3 separate regions of the Homo sapiens genome follow, and regions 1 and 2 are each linked to region 3. The links are contacts of gene promoters, found by promoter capture Hi-C in blood cells and fetal thymus (Javierre and others, 2016). All regions are on one chromosome and are shown on one strand. The core of a region is centred on a gene start or on the middle of the fragment in contact, and the rest is flanking DNA. Distances in the headings are between cores, read along the strand shown.

Evidence for each region. Contacts are between HindIII fragments. The CHiCAGO score rates a contact against its expected background, and 5 or more counts as called.
Region 1: a fragment that was not itself captured here is called in contact with the fragment with the promoter of WBP11 in region 3 in 1 of 17 cell types (activated CD4 T cells); the score reaches 5.1 in activated CD4 T cells.
Region 2: a contact is called between a fragment that was not itself captured here and the fragment with the promoter of WBP11 in region 3, in 7 of 17 cell types (activated CD4 T cells, total CD4 T cells, naive CD8 T cells and 4 more). The highest score is 12.4, in activated CD4 T cells.

Annotation. Positions count from the first base shown.
Region 1 is chr12:15,920,138-15,924,101 of GRCh38, forward strand. All of the region lies in intron 1 of DERA (deoxyribose-phosphate aldolase), which reads left to right. Among named protein-coding and RNA genes, the nearest start is that of DERA, 11 kb to the left of the region's middle. The HindIII fragment of the contact is 768 bases long and covers 2,027-2,794 here.
Region 2 is chr12:15,901,703-15,905,928 of GRCh38, forward strand. STRAP (serine/threonine kinase receptor associated protein) reads left to right here. Exons shown (of 10, transcript NM_007178.4): 10 at 1,215-1,776. The coding sequence ends at 1,276. Among named protein-coding and RNA genes, the nearest start is that of DERA, 7.5 kb to the right of the region's middle. The HindIII fragment of the contact is 6,674 bases long and covers 1-4,226 here.
Region 3 is chr12:14,802,050-14,806,270 of GRCh38, forward strand. It overlaps WBP11 (WW domain binding protein 11), which reads right to left and starts at 1,429. Exons shown (of 12, transcript NM_016312.3): 1 at 1,303-1,429. It overlaps C12orf60 (chromosome 12 open reading frame 60), which reads left to right and starts at 1,621. Exons shown (of 2, transcript NM_175874.4): 1 at 1,621-1,702. SMCO3 (single-pass membrane protein with coiled-coil domains 3) reads right to left here. Exons shown (of 2, transcript NM_001013698.2): 2 at 2,601-4,221. The coding sequence ends at 3,954. RefSeq lists an enhancer at 1,725-1,964. The HindIII fragment of the contact is 2,157 bases long and covers 955-3,111 here.

The sequences.
Region 1 (3,964 bases), core at 1,161-3,660, 1.1 Mb after region 3:
TAGAGATTCTTGAATAAACATTACCTCTTATGAATATTTCAGATACTCTTTTCTAGGAAAATAATAGTGTCCACACTTATAAGGCTACCTCTTTTTGTTGTTGTTTTTCATGTCATGGAATTTCCTAGCAGAAAGGCATGTTTGTTATCAGTCCAACCCCCTTCTGTTGTGGGTAAGAAAACTGAGACCTAGGGAAGTTAAGCCTGTAGTCACATGGCTGGTTAGAGGTAGTCCTGGAATGGAAATTCAGGCTCTGTCTATGCTGGTTTAGTCTAGCACGTTGCGTTACCTTCTTTTCCACTAGTTTACCATGAGCTTGGCTGGGCTCTGACCCTGCCTTAGAATCACCTAAGACGCTTGTTAAAAAACACAGATTCCTGAGCCCCACAATAGCTTTAATTATTTGTATTATGGAAGCTGGGCGTGGTGGCTCATGCCTGTAATCCCAGCACTTTGGGAGGCTGAGGCGGGCGGATCATGAGATGAAGAGATTGAGACCATCCTGGCCAACATGGTGAAAGCGCGTCTCTACTAAAAGTATAAAAATTAGCTGGGCGTGGTGGCACATGCCTGTAACAGTTCCAGCTACTCGCGAGGCTGAGGCAGGAGAATTGCTTGAACCCAGGAGGCGAGGTTGCAGTGAGCCGAGATTGCGCCACTACACTCCATCCTGGTGATACATCCGGAGCGAGACTCCGTCTCAAAAATACCCCCCCCAAAAATACCAAATTATTTGTATTATGGGGAGAAAGCCCATGAGTCTGCATTTTTATAAGATTCCCAGATAGCTCTTATGAATGAATACTGCAGGGGCAGAACCATGCAGTAAGCTGTGGAGTAGACCCAGGTTCAGATTCAGAGAATCTTTAATTACGAGCTATTGTTTTTTTGATAAATCTTATGTCATTTTTACCTTAATCTTATTATCTTTATATATCATATATTTTACACTGATAAGCAAAGTTTCTCTAAGCAAATATGGAAAGAAATAAGCCTTTTTATTTGATTGAGATAAGTGAAGAAATGTGTTAAAGTGAATGTGAAGGCATGTTGGAAACATCGGGGTGACGTAGTGAAGTAAGTGCATATATCTGAAAAGTGCACTGTGTCTGAAAAGGGACATACTTTATTCAAATGATGCCAGTGGTTAGTGGAAGGATATAATCAGTGTTCTTGATGATTTTGGAAATTGACATAAGGATATCTTCTCTGTGGTCTCAGAGACTGGAGGAGATAGACCTCTAATCCCATTAGCTGAAGATGTGAGATTAACCAGAAAGAGTAATTCCGTTAATTTTCTGGTAGAAAAAAACATATTCATGTTTCCTTGAGATTATGGATTAAGTTTGTATTTTGGACTCAGGGAAGAAAGTAGGTTGTAACAATTCCTATTGTATTTGGTGAAGGAGCTCAAGATCTGTATATTGTGGTATTTTGAGGGAGATTATTTTTTCTTCAGTAAGTAGCAAGAAACTTAAGTGCTTCTAATAATTTTCCAAAGAGGCCAGGCATGGTGGCTCATGCCTGTAATCCCAGCATTTTGGGAATCTGAGGTGGGCAGATCATCTGAGTTCAGGCATTCGAGACCAGCCTGGTCAACATGGTGAAACTTTGTTTCTGCTAGAAATACATAAAAAAATTAACCGGGCTTGGTGGCGAGCGCCTGTAATCCCAGCTACTCGGGAGACTGAGGTAGGAGAATCGCTTGAACCCAGGAGGCAGAGGTTGCAGTGAGCCGAGATCACGCCATTGCACTCCAGCCTGGGTGACGAGCAAAACTCCATCTCAGATAATAATAATAATAATAAATAATTTTCCAAGGAATAAACAAGAAATGTATTTTAGTTTTGTGTCTTTATAAGCAGAGTTTTCCTTTTTTAACTTTTGACTTCTTAGGAGGCAATCATTATTATAATCTCAAAGTCATTCATTCAGCATGTGTATGTTGAGTACTGTGAACTCATCACTGTCCATGTCTTTGTGAAAGCTATAAGAGCAATAGAACTTAGGAGCCCTGCCCTTGAGAAGCTTACCTTCATCAAATTTTAAAATATCCCCGGGGAAGTACGCTGCCTTATTCTTGTCAAGGAAAGCAAACTGTGGCCATCATCAGGATATGCACTTGCCCTGTTTGAAATGATTAGCCAGTCAACATTGTATTATTAACCTTTAGATAATCATTTAAAAATGCTGTGGGAAATCTCTTGAGCTAGGCAAAGATCTCATATGGATTTTTATTAGTGAAAACATTTCCATAGATCTGTCTCCAGCAAGAAAAAAATCATAATTTCAGTCTGCAGATGAATGCTATATTTGACTGAGTGTTGCATTAAACTACTAATATAGAGAAATTTTGGGACACAGTGATTAGCATGTAGAGTCTAGAAAATAGGCATTGATGCTGATAATACTGAAGACCGTCTGAAAGAAAAGCATCCTAGAGAAAGTTCAGTTGTTTTGGTGCTTGACAGTAGTTGTTTTTACAGGCCAAGTTGAAATTAGGTATCCTGTGGAAAGAATGTCAGGGAATGTGTACCTGCCCATTTGTGCTTCATTGAATGCACTGTGGTTTATCTGGGAAGGATACAGGATTGGGACCCAGGCACTTTAGTTGTAGACCTGATAGCATCTAGCTGTGGAACCTTGCGGGGTGGGGAGGGGCTTCAGTACATTGGCTTGTACTTTCCAAGTCTGTAAAACAGACACACGAGAATGTAGGTTCATCAGTTGTAAGGTTTATACCACTCTGGTGGGGGATGTTGATAATGGGGGAGGCTATGCATGTGTGGGGCAAAGCTTGTGTGGGAAATCTCTGTACCTTCTGTTCAGTTTTGCTGTGAGTCTGAAACTGCTCTAAAAAATAGTGGTTTTTGTTTTTGCTTTTTTTTTTTTTTTTTTTTTTTGAGACGGAGTCTCGCTCTGTCGCCCAGGCTGGAGTGCAGTGGCGCGATCTCGGCTCACTGCAAGCTCCGCCTCCCGGGTTCACGCCATTCTCCTGCCTCAGCCTCCCAAGTAGCTGGGACTACAGGCGCCCGCCACTACGCCCGGCTAATTTTTTGTATTTTTAGTAGAGACGGGGTTTCACCGTTTTAGCCGGGATGGTCTCGATCTCCTGACCTCGTGATCCGCCCGCCTCGGCCTCCCAAAGTGCTGGGATTACAGGCGTGAGCCACCGCGCCCGGCCTGTTTTTGCTTTTAAAAAACAGACACAGATTTCTGAAAACCCTTCTGGTTCTGAACTTCATTGAGTCTTCTGATCATTCCTTAAAATGACCATTTGGTGGAATTGTAGGTCTAGAATGTTCCCTGTGCTTGCAGTTCAGACCTTTTCCTTCCTTCTCTGGCCAGCATAATCTTCTCTGGCTTTCAAGGCTCTGAATTCCAGTGATCAGTTTACATTTTCAGCCCTATCTCTGATGACTAGACACATTATATTTTCTCTTTCTCTAGATCTTAAGTCAAGGTCTCATGAATGTATACCTTGACTTAAAAATTCTTATGTGAACAGAGCCTTTTATTTTGTATTCATTCCTCTGCATGGCAGAATATTGGTTATAGTCTTCCTTTTTTTTTTTTTCATAAAAATATCTTGTGAATTCATCTCTTCCTCTCTTCTATTCCCTAGGCTTGGCTCATTCTATCACACATCTGAATCACAATGGTGGCTTCATAGCTGGTTTCTTTACCTCTGGGCTTTCTCATCTGCCCCTGGAAAATCCATATTTGGTTAAACTTTTTCTTGTTGTTTTTTCAAATAGAACACATTTATTCATCTCCAATTTGCTTTTCTGATTATTTGGTTTCTTCAGAATGTTCTTTCATTTCATGAAAAGTATATAATCTTAAACAAATTACTGTATTCTCAGTCTTTAGTTGAAGAAAATAATTGAGTTAGTGAGTAACAGCCAAATAATTCTATCCAGAAATATTTGAATGATGTTAGCCAGGTAAGAATTCTAAAGAC
Region 2 (4,226 bases), core at 1,701-4,200, 1.1 Mb after region 3:
ATACAAAAATTAGCCGGTCATGGTGGCAGATACCTGTAATCCCAGCTATTTAGGAGGCTGAAGCAGGAGAGTAGCTTGAACCCAGGAGGTAGAGGTTGCAGCGAGCCGAGATTGCGCCACTGCACTCCAGCTTGGGTGTCAGAGAGAGACTCTGTCTCAAAAAAAAAAAAAAAAAAAAGGTTGCCTTGGCTGTTGCACGTACAAAGAATTGGACTGGGAACAAGAGTGAACATAAACCAGTTAGGGGGCATTGTAGTCTAGATGAGTGATCATGTAGGTTTTGTTTTGTTTTGAGATGGAGTCTTGCTCTGTTGCCCAGGCTGGAGTGCAGTGGCATGATCTCGACTCACTGCAGCCTCCGCCTCTGGTTTCAAGCAATTCTCCTGCGTAAGCCTCCTGGGTAGTTGGGATTACAGGTGCACCACCACGCCTGGCTAATTTTTGTATTTTTAGTAGAGATGGGGTTTCACCATGTTGATCAGGCTGGTCTTGAACTCCTGACCTCATGATCTGCCCACCTCGGCCTCCCAAAGTGCTGGGATTACAGGCGTGAGCCACTGCACCCGGCCTATCATGTAGTTTTTAATAAGGGTATTGCAATGAGAACAGAAAAAGGTAGATGGAGTTGAGAGTCTTTTGTTAGACTTGTTAGAATTGTGAGATTGATGAGTGGGGGTATCATGAGGAAGAAATATGCAGATTGCTGCCATGAGAAACTGGGTATGATGATTTTGGGGGAGGTTGGGAAGGTGTTTACCATTTACCCAATAGAGTTTTCCTTAAATTTTTTATTGTTAAGCACCTTCTTGCTAAAACAATGTTGATGGTTAATGTTTTGCTTTAAATAGCACTAAATATTAGGATTTGAATCACTAAAAGAGAGGGCCAGATCCTTCGAAGACATGACTTTAATTCCGGGTTTGTTATATAGCTGGAGTCTTTGAAAATTTAGGCCAGAAAGGGACCCTTGGAGGTTGAGTTATGGTGTAAGAGAATCTAGTGGATAAAACACATGAACTCTTTCTTCTTTGCCTTTTCAATGACATGAGTCTAGTTGTTAGTGGCATGTGCAGTTGCTCTCTTCTTTCCCTTACCACAGTATGCTTTACAAACACTTTTTCATTCCTTCATTACACAGAAATGTAGATTTGCTTCTTTCTTTCATTAAGTTGACTAATGTGACTTTTTTTTTTTTTTTTTTTTTTTACTTATAGAAGAAATTGCTTCAGAGAATTCAGATTGCATCTTTCCTTCAGCTCCTGATGTTAAGGCCTGAGCGTCAATCATATGTGCAGTTAGTATACAACTGACTAAAACAAGCAAGCAGAGAAAAGCATCAGCCTTCCAGAGTTACTGTCTGCTTAAGGCAGAAACAGCAGTAAATAATGAGGAAAATGAATTAGCTCCAGTGCTGGAACAACTAACTAACTTGGTGTTACCTGTAAGTGAAAACTCAAGTGTCAGATGAAGGGAGGTGGAGTTATCCTCTTATAGTACAGTGGCCTGTTATCTTTTTAATGAATATATACAAGCCAACATCCAATTTCTATTATTACAATTAGGGTTCTTGTAGCTGTTTATGTTAATATGGAGAAGAAAACTATATTGGCTGATTTTTTCTGATCTTAAAGCAGAATGCCTTTTCTTTTTTTGCTTCAGTTGTAAAGAAGAGGGAATACATGATAAAGTAACTGGTTTGATTTCTCGTTCATTGTACACTGCCTCTGAACATCTAATTGTTTTTAGTTGTCTAAATAAAATGCCTCTAAAACAAAACAATGTTTGGTTTTTTTGGGGAAAAACTACTAATGTGAGTTTTATAAGTGGAAATAGCCAGAAGGTTTTTCTGTATCATAACCATAGCAAAAGGTAAGCCAATTAATCTGTAGTAAACATTATTTTATAATATTGAGATTCAGTTACTTGTCCTGAATTTTTGAAATTCTTATGTCCTTTACTAGTGTTTCATTTACCTTCTCTATTCCCAGATTGGATAGAAGTGCTTGACATGCCTTTTTAAACAATTATTTAAATAATACATGCTAGTTATAAGAAAAAAAAAATCAACTGAAATTTAGCAGTAAGCTGAAAGATCACTTAAAATCCTACCACTCCTCAAAAAACTATTAAAATCAAATGACCATGAATGCATGTTAGGGCATCTCTGTATGTATATACAGATAGATAGAATGGATTTTATAAAAATGGGATTACTATAGTCCTGCAGTGGTTTAAGAAGTATGGAATTTTACCTCATTCTTTAAATTTGGGTGGCATTCAGAAAGCCCTTCTAAAACCTTCTAATAAATTGGATCAGCTGAGTTTAGACTTGTAATTTATTTTTTAAAACAAAGAGGGCATATTAAATGAGTAATTTGGAAATACTTCAGATGAATAAATAACATCTCTGCAACTTCCTTTTTCTCCTGATCAGTCCTGTGAGTGACCCTTGATAACTTTTCTTAAAAGCAATATGAGTCAACCAAAGAATAAGATTAATTTTTGAGGATTTGTGATAACCAGAAGAAAGCACTGTAGGCTGTGACAACCTGTGAGGGCCGAGAGAAATACAGGGGAGCCAACTGGTGATCCATATTGGCTTTCATAGAGTGGTAGTATTTTTGTGTCAGCTTGTTACATGCCTGAACCTCTGGATTGCAGCAGTGTTGTCATTGTACCAGCAGTTGCTCAGACTCTAATCAGAGTCTGATTTACCCTCAATAAAGTTCTGTACGCATCAGATTGGAATCATGAAGTTGCTTGTTATTTATGAACCAAGGGAATTTCTCCTTAGGTTTCATAAAAGTCTAATGACCCTGTACAGGTACAGTCCTTTGTGTATTGGTTTCCTGCTGCTGCTGTAACAAGTGACCACAAATGTGTACCTTAAGACAACACAAATTTATTATCTTACGGTTAGGGAGGTCAGAAGTCCACAGTAGGTCTTGCTGGGCTTAAATTAAGGTGTCAGCAGAGCTGCAAGCCTTCTAGAGGCTCTACAGGACAATCTGTTCCCTTGCCTTTTCTAGCTTCTAGAAGCCAGCTGCATTCCCTGGCTCATGGTTCCTTCCTCTTTCTTTACGTCCAGCAGTGTCCGTTTTTTAATCTCTTATTCTGAATGTGACTCTATCTCCTGCTGCCTTCTTTTATTTATAAGGAGGTTTGTAATTATATCGGGCTCACCTGAATAATCCAGGATAATCTTTCCAATTCAAGATCTTCAATTTAATCACATCTGCAAAAGTCCCTTTTGCCATATAGGATGACATATTCACAGGTTCTGGGGATTGGGAAGTAGACATCTTTGTGGGGGCCATTAGTTATTAGTCTGCTTACCACACTTGGTAATGGTAGAATCCTACAGTAGAATTTAACAAAACTTTCAAGAGTAGTGGTCACTTTTCTGTTCTCATCTTAACTAAACCTTCAGCAGCATTCAATAATCATCCACTTCCTGGTTTTTGATTTTTTTTTTTAGCTTCTATGAAACTACACTCCTGGGTCTTTTTTTTTTTTTTTTTGAGATGGAGTCTCGCTCTGTCACCCAGGCTGGAGTGCAATGGTGCGATCTCAGCTTACTGCAACCTCTGCCTCCCAGGTTCAAGCGATTCTCCTGCCTCAGCCTCCTGAGTAGCTGGGACTACAGGCATACACCACCACGCCCAGCTAATTTTTGTATTTTTAGTAGAGACGGGGTTTTGCCATGTTGGCCAGGATGGTCTTGATCTCCTGACCTCGTGATCCACCCGCCTCGGCTTCCCGAAGTGCTGGGATTACAGATGTGAGCCACCGTGCCCGGCAGGGTCTTTTTATACCTTACTGACTCTTGTATTTGCCAGTTCCTCCTTTTTTTTCTTGACTTCAGATCTGGGCTGCACTTTCTAGCTCTGTTGTCTAAAGAAAAATATCTGCTGTTACTCAAGATCTTCTGATAGGTTCTACATCGTTGTTTATATGTTGTCTACCTGGTCTGCCTCTTTGAGCACCAGAGTTTGACAGCATAGTTGAGTGCTCCATCTTAACCTTTCATAAGACTCAGACTTACCTATCGTAAGTCTTGATTTTTTAAATCAAACCTGTTTCCCTCAACCTTTCCCCATTCCACTAACTGGTACTAACTTATACTTACTTGTTCAAACTAAAAGACATGTAAATCCTTGACTGTGTTCTCTCTCATGCCCATGTCTATATGCAAGTCCTGTGGGCTCTTCGAAGCTGTGCTTTGC
Region 3 (4,221 bases), core at 179-2,678:
TGAAATTAGTGCTATACTGAGAGCTCCCCAAAACTTAAATATTAAGACACATATTTTTCTTACTAAGACCTGACTCCCAATATATATTTCTTAAGGTAATTAAAGGGAATACTTATTTTTGTTTGAGGAAAAAATATTTTGTAAGCTAAAACTTTTATTAACACAGTACCCTATTACATGACTTCTTCCTCTTATTCCAAAATAATGGGGCTTAATTTTTTGAAGCGCAGTCTTTCCAGTAATAAAGGCGGACAAATTTGCTTCCTTTTGCAAGTAGACACTTTTTAAAGGTAAGAAAGGGAAGATTTTGTCAGCCCAGTTTATTACAGTTAATGTCTCTTTCACCAAGTGTCCAACTGCCCCGAAAGCCAGATGTTTCAGAAAGCCAGATGTTTCACAGCTGTTCTGGTGGCAATTACTTCAAGACAGCGGTATCAAAGGCTCTGATTTTTAGCTTCCTCATCTAAAAAATGGGGACATCAATTACTTTATAACAAAGCTCTGATGATACAATGAGATTACAAATAAAATATCCTGTGATGTTTGACTCACTACTTAACTAAAATCTTTATAATGGATCCATATTCCTGGCCTAGCTACCATACACCCTGTCAAGTGGTTTCCTTCTAAGAAAAACTGGGGATGGGGGGGTTAGGGGGGTGGGAGAGCAGCAGGGAGTAGGAGGTAGGGAAGGAGGAAAACAAGCAAAATCAGTACATATACAAGCTCTCCCATCTTTGATTGCCTGCGTTTTTTGTGCTTTCCTTTCTCAAGTTTCCTCAGGCTCATGTTCTGAATCTCCTCCCCCACAAATGAAACACAACGGATACGAATTACAGAGAATTTTACGGAAGACACTGGAGCTTAAGTCTGCAGATTAGTTTTTTGTCTACAAGCGGAGGCGACTGGAAAATCAAGCCAAATAAGCGTTGGATAACTCTAAACAGCCAAAGAAGCTTCAATGGGATAGGGTCCAGGTTCACCAAAGGAGGCAACACCAGCAACTGACGAAACCATAGCGACGGCTGACCGACCATGACTCGAGGTACAAGACGTCAAACCTAAGGCTACTAATCAACGTGCGTAAGAAGCGGCCCCAACCGACCCGGGCGATGCCAACCGCGCAACCACTGGTCGCCGCGCCACCCCAGGCCCAGGAATAGCCCAGTCCGCAACAGGGAGACCTCAACCAGGGAGAGGAGGAGCGGGGCAAAGGGGCTGGGTGTCCCCCAAGCCGCTGCGCGGGACGTGGAAGGGACGAAAGAGGTGAGGAAGAGTAGTAAATCAATTCAATACACTCACACTTCTGCTGTGCTCCCAGGACTACGAGAAGCGGGTAGGGGGCGACTCCCGGCCTCTTTCACTTCGTAAAGGCCTTCAACTGGGTCTCTCGGTCAACCCCTCAGCTACCGCCATCTTGAAACCTCGCGCCCCTCCGCACTCCTCACGTCATTTCCCATTCCTCTGTCCCGCCTTCTCTTAGCGCCGCTTGACCCTGGAACCATAGAGAATACCCAAGAATTCCAGGACCAGAGTCTCTTCCGGTTCCATACAATACTCAATTGGTTGGTTGTCGGCTAAGAGCCCGCCTCATTGCGCTCATCTAGTACAATAGGAATTAGAAGAAGATAGCTGCTAACTGAGTGGCTGACGGTCCTGTCTCTCGAGTTGGAGGCATCTTGACTTAGTTGCTGGGAGCCTGGTACGTTGAGCCGTCCGAGAACGGTACATTCTGCAGATAAAGAAGCGTTCTGCGTTTTCTGTCTTTTGGAATTACCTTAGTTTTTGCATTTTTCTGTTTCTTATGACCCAAGCAGGTGCGATCCTTTAGGGGTGTCTCCGTGTGTAAACGAATACCCAGATAACATTTGCCACTGAGTTTAATCCGCTTTGTAAGCATCAGGTTATCCCATGTGAGCGCCTAGTACGTGTGGAAATTTAATAGACAGGCAGAACAGAACGTTTGTAGACCACCTGAACAAATAAATTAGCACCCGTATTAGAGTCGCAGATTGCTTATATGGGCGGTGATTTATTATTTGTTAGTAGTGTTTTGAAGAAGAAATACGGGGATACATATGCAGTCGGTTTTAAGTTATATGAGTGGCAAGGTTGATATATATTGGCTATATTCCCGACTGGTCTTTTCACCAGCCAAAAGTCCTCTATGATGTCACTCTACGTACGGGATTCTTCACTTAACTCTAGCCTTCGCCCTTTCCCTACCTTCTATCCCCTCTTTCCGTGAGTCAGCCCCCACTTATTTCCCTTAAAGGTAAGTTTAAACATTTAAAAAACTATCTTAGAGGATACGCTTGGTTATTTCTAATCTTAACCTGACTATCCCATGTAGGAAGGCTATTCTTACCACCAGTTATAAATATTTCAAAATATTGATGGAGATACATACTAATTTTTAGCAGAATCTTTAAACTGCCCTTGAAGGTATAAGATCGGTCCTATACCTAAACTTACCTTTGTGTTAGGAAATTCTTGATTTGATTTTAGACTGAATTTGAGTGTCAGAAAGCAATGACGAGATATTGTAGGTTAAAGCTGATAAACCAGGTAGTACATAAAAAAGAAAATAATCTTGAACTGCGAAGGTGAGCTAAGTTGTAATGTTTTGCAACTAGTTTTTTTTCTTTCCTAACACATTAGTGATCATAGTTTTGCAACTCGTTTTGAAAAACAATGCAAGAAGAGAAAGAGAAAACAGTGTATGTTGGAAATATTAAAGTCTTTCATGTAGCTAAAATTTTATATGTAGCTACTATTTTTAAGATATGCTGAGCAGTTTTTATTTCAATACATTTCTTGTACTTGGATGGGAGAATCAACTATAACAAACACAGTCTGGCATCAACAGCATATTAATAATTTTGTCAGTATAGACTAAAAGAGTCCTCATGGGAATTATTGGTTGGCAAAGGATTTAGAAAACAAACACATCTGCAGAGATTCAGCGGAACCATTAATAGGCTTCCATAGCCTTTGGCGTTTTCTAAAATCAGGTAATTAGTGAAATGGCCCACCTAATGCGTCATGTAGCAAAGGCAGCTGCCTCCTTTTTGCTAGTGTTGAAAATGAAATTATATTCTTTTTTCTGAAAGCTTATAATAAATTATGACTTTCTTTTAAATGACAAATGCTTTGAGTAGTGACCTTCTATTCTGCATCCTAAATGCAATATGTGTAGCTGTGTTTTGCTTTCTTGTCTTCTAAATGTTTCAGTGTTTGAACATTCACTTGAGCGATATTTAATTATCACAGTTGGTCAGGGTTGATTGCAGTGACTGAAACAGGACCTTGATGTTTTTAGTTTTGATTTTTACCATTTTCAAATCCATCCGGTTTACATTGTGTAATCAGTAGACGTTTACAGATCAGCTTCCTGTCCTAATTGAAGCACATTGTTACAAACCATTTTTCAGTCTCTTCTAGTTTACAGAAAACCAGATTTACTCTGATGGTCAAAAATATGGTAGTATTTCTGTCTCATTCGAAGGCCTAGAGTTTGTGTCTAGGCAGAAGTTACTGAGTATGTCCCCTTATAACTAAATGATGTTTGAAGCTGGTGGTAGAAATGAAAGTCTCTGCATTCAATGTGAAATTTAAGAATTTTACTGAAATTAGAAAAGAGAAAAGTAACCCCTATACTTGCTACTCTACGATAGCATTTACCCCAATGTTGATCTGGTAGAGCAGGGTGTGAAAACATCCAGGGAGAAAATTTTTTTACCTCACAGGGTCTAGCATCAGCTGATCCAGGCATTGTTGACTCAAAACTCATCTAGTCATCTAGTCTTGGCATCTCCAGTTTCCCTCTCCAAATTGTTTATCTTATTTAAGTCCATATTGGAAGCCTATAGAAAATGAACCTAATCAAAGAAGCAAACACTGTTACTGAAAAGGAAGCAGAAAAACACTTCAGTGGCAAATAAAACGGCTGTTCATTTCATTTGGTGTTTCACTGTATTGATGACCTCAGTAATGGCATGATTATATTTTTCTGAGGCTGATTTGAACTCCACCAGATGCTTCTCATAACTTTTGATGGCTGCTTGAAGCTGTGTTTTTTCCACTGCTCCCAGGATGGCACGGACAATCATATCTATGCCAAGGCCAAGAACAGCAACTCCAATACTACCAAGGAGAGAAGCACCAATTTGAGCTAACACAGTGACCAACTTGTTAATTATGCCAGTTGTGACATTTGAG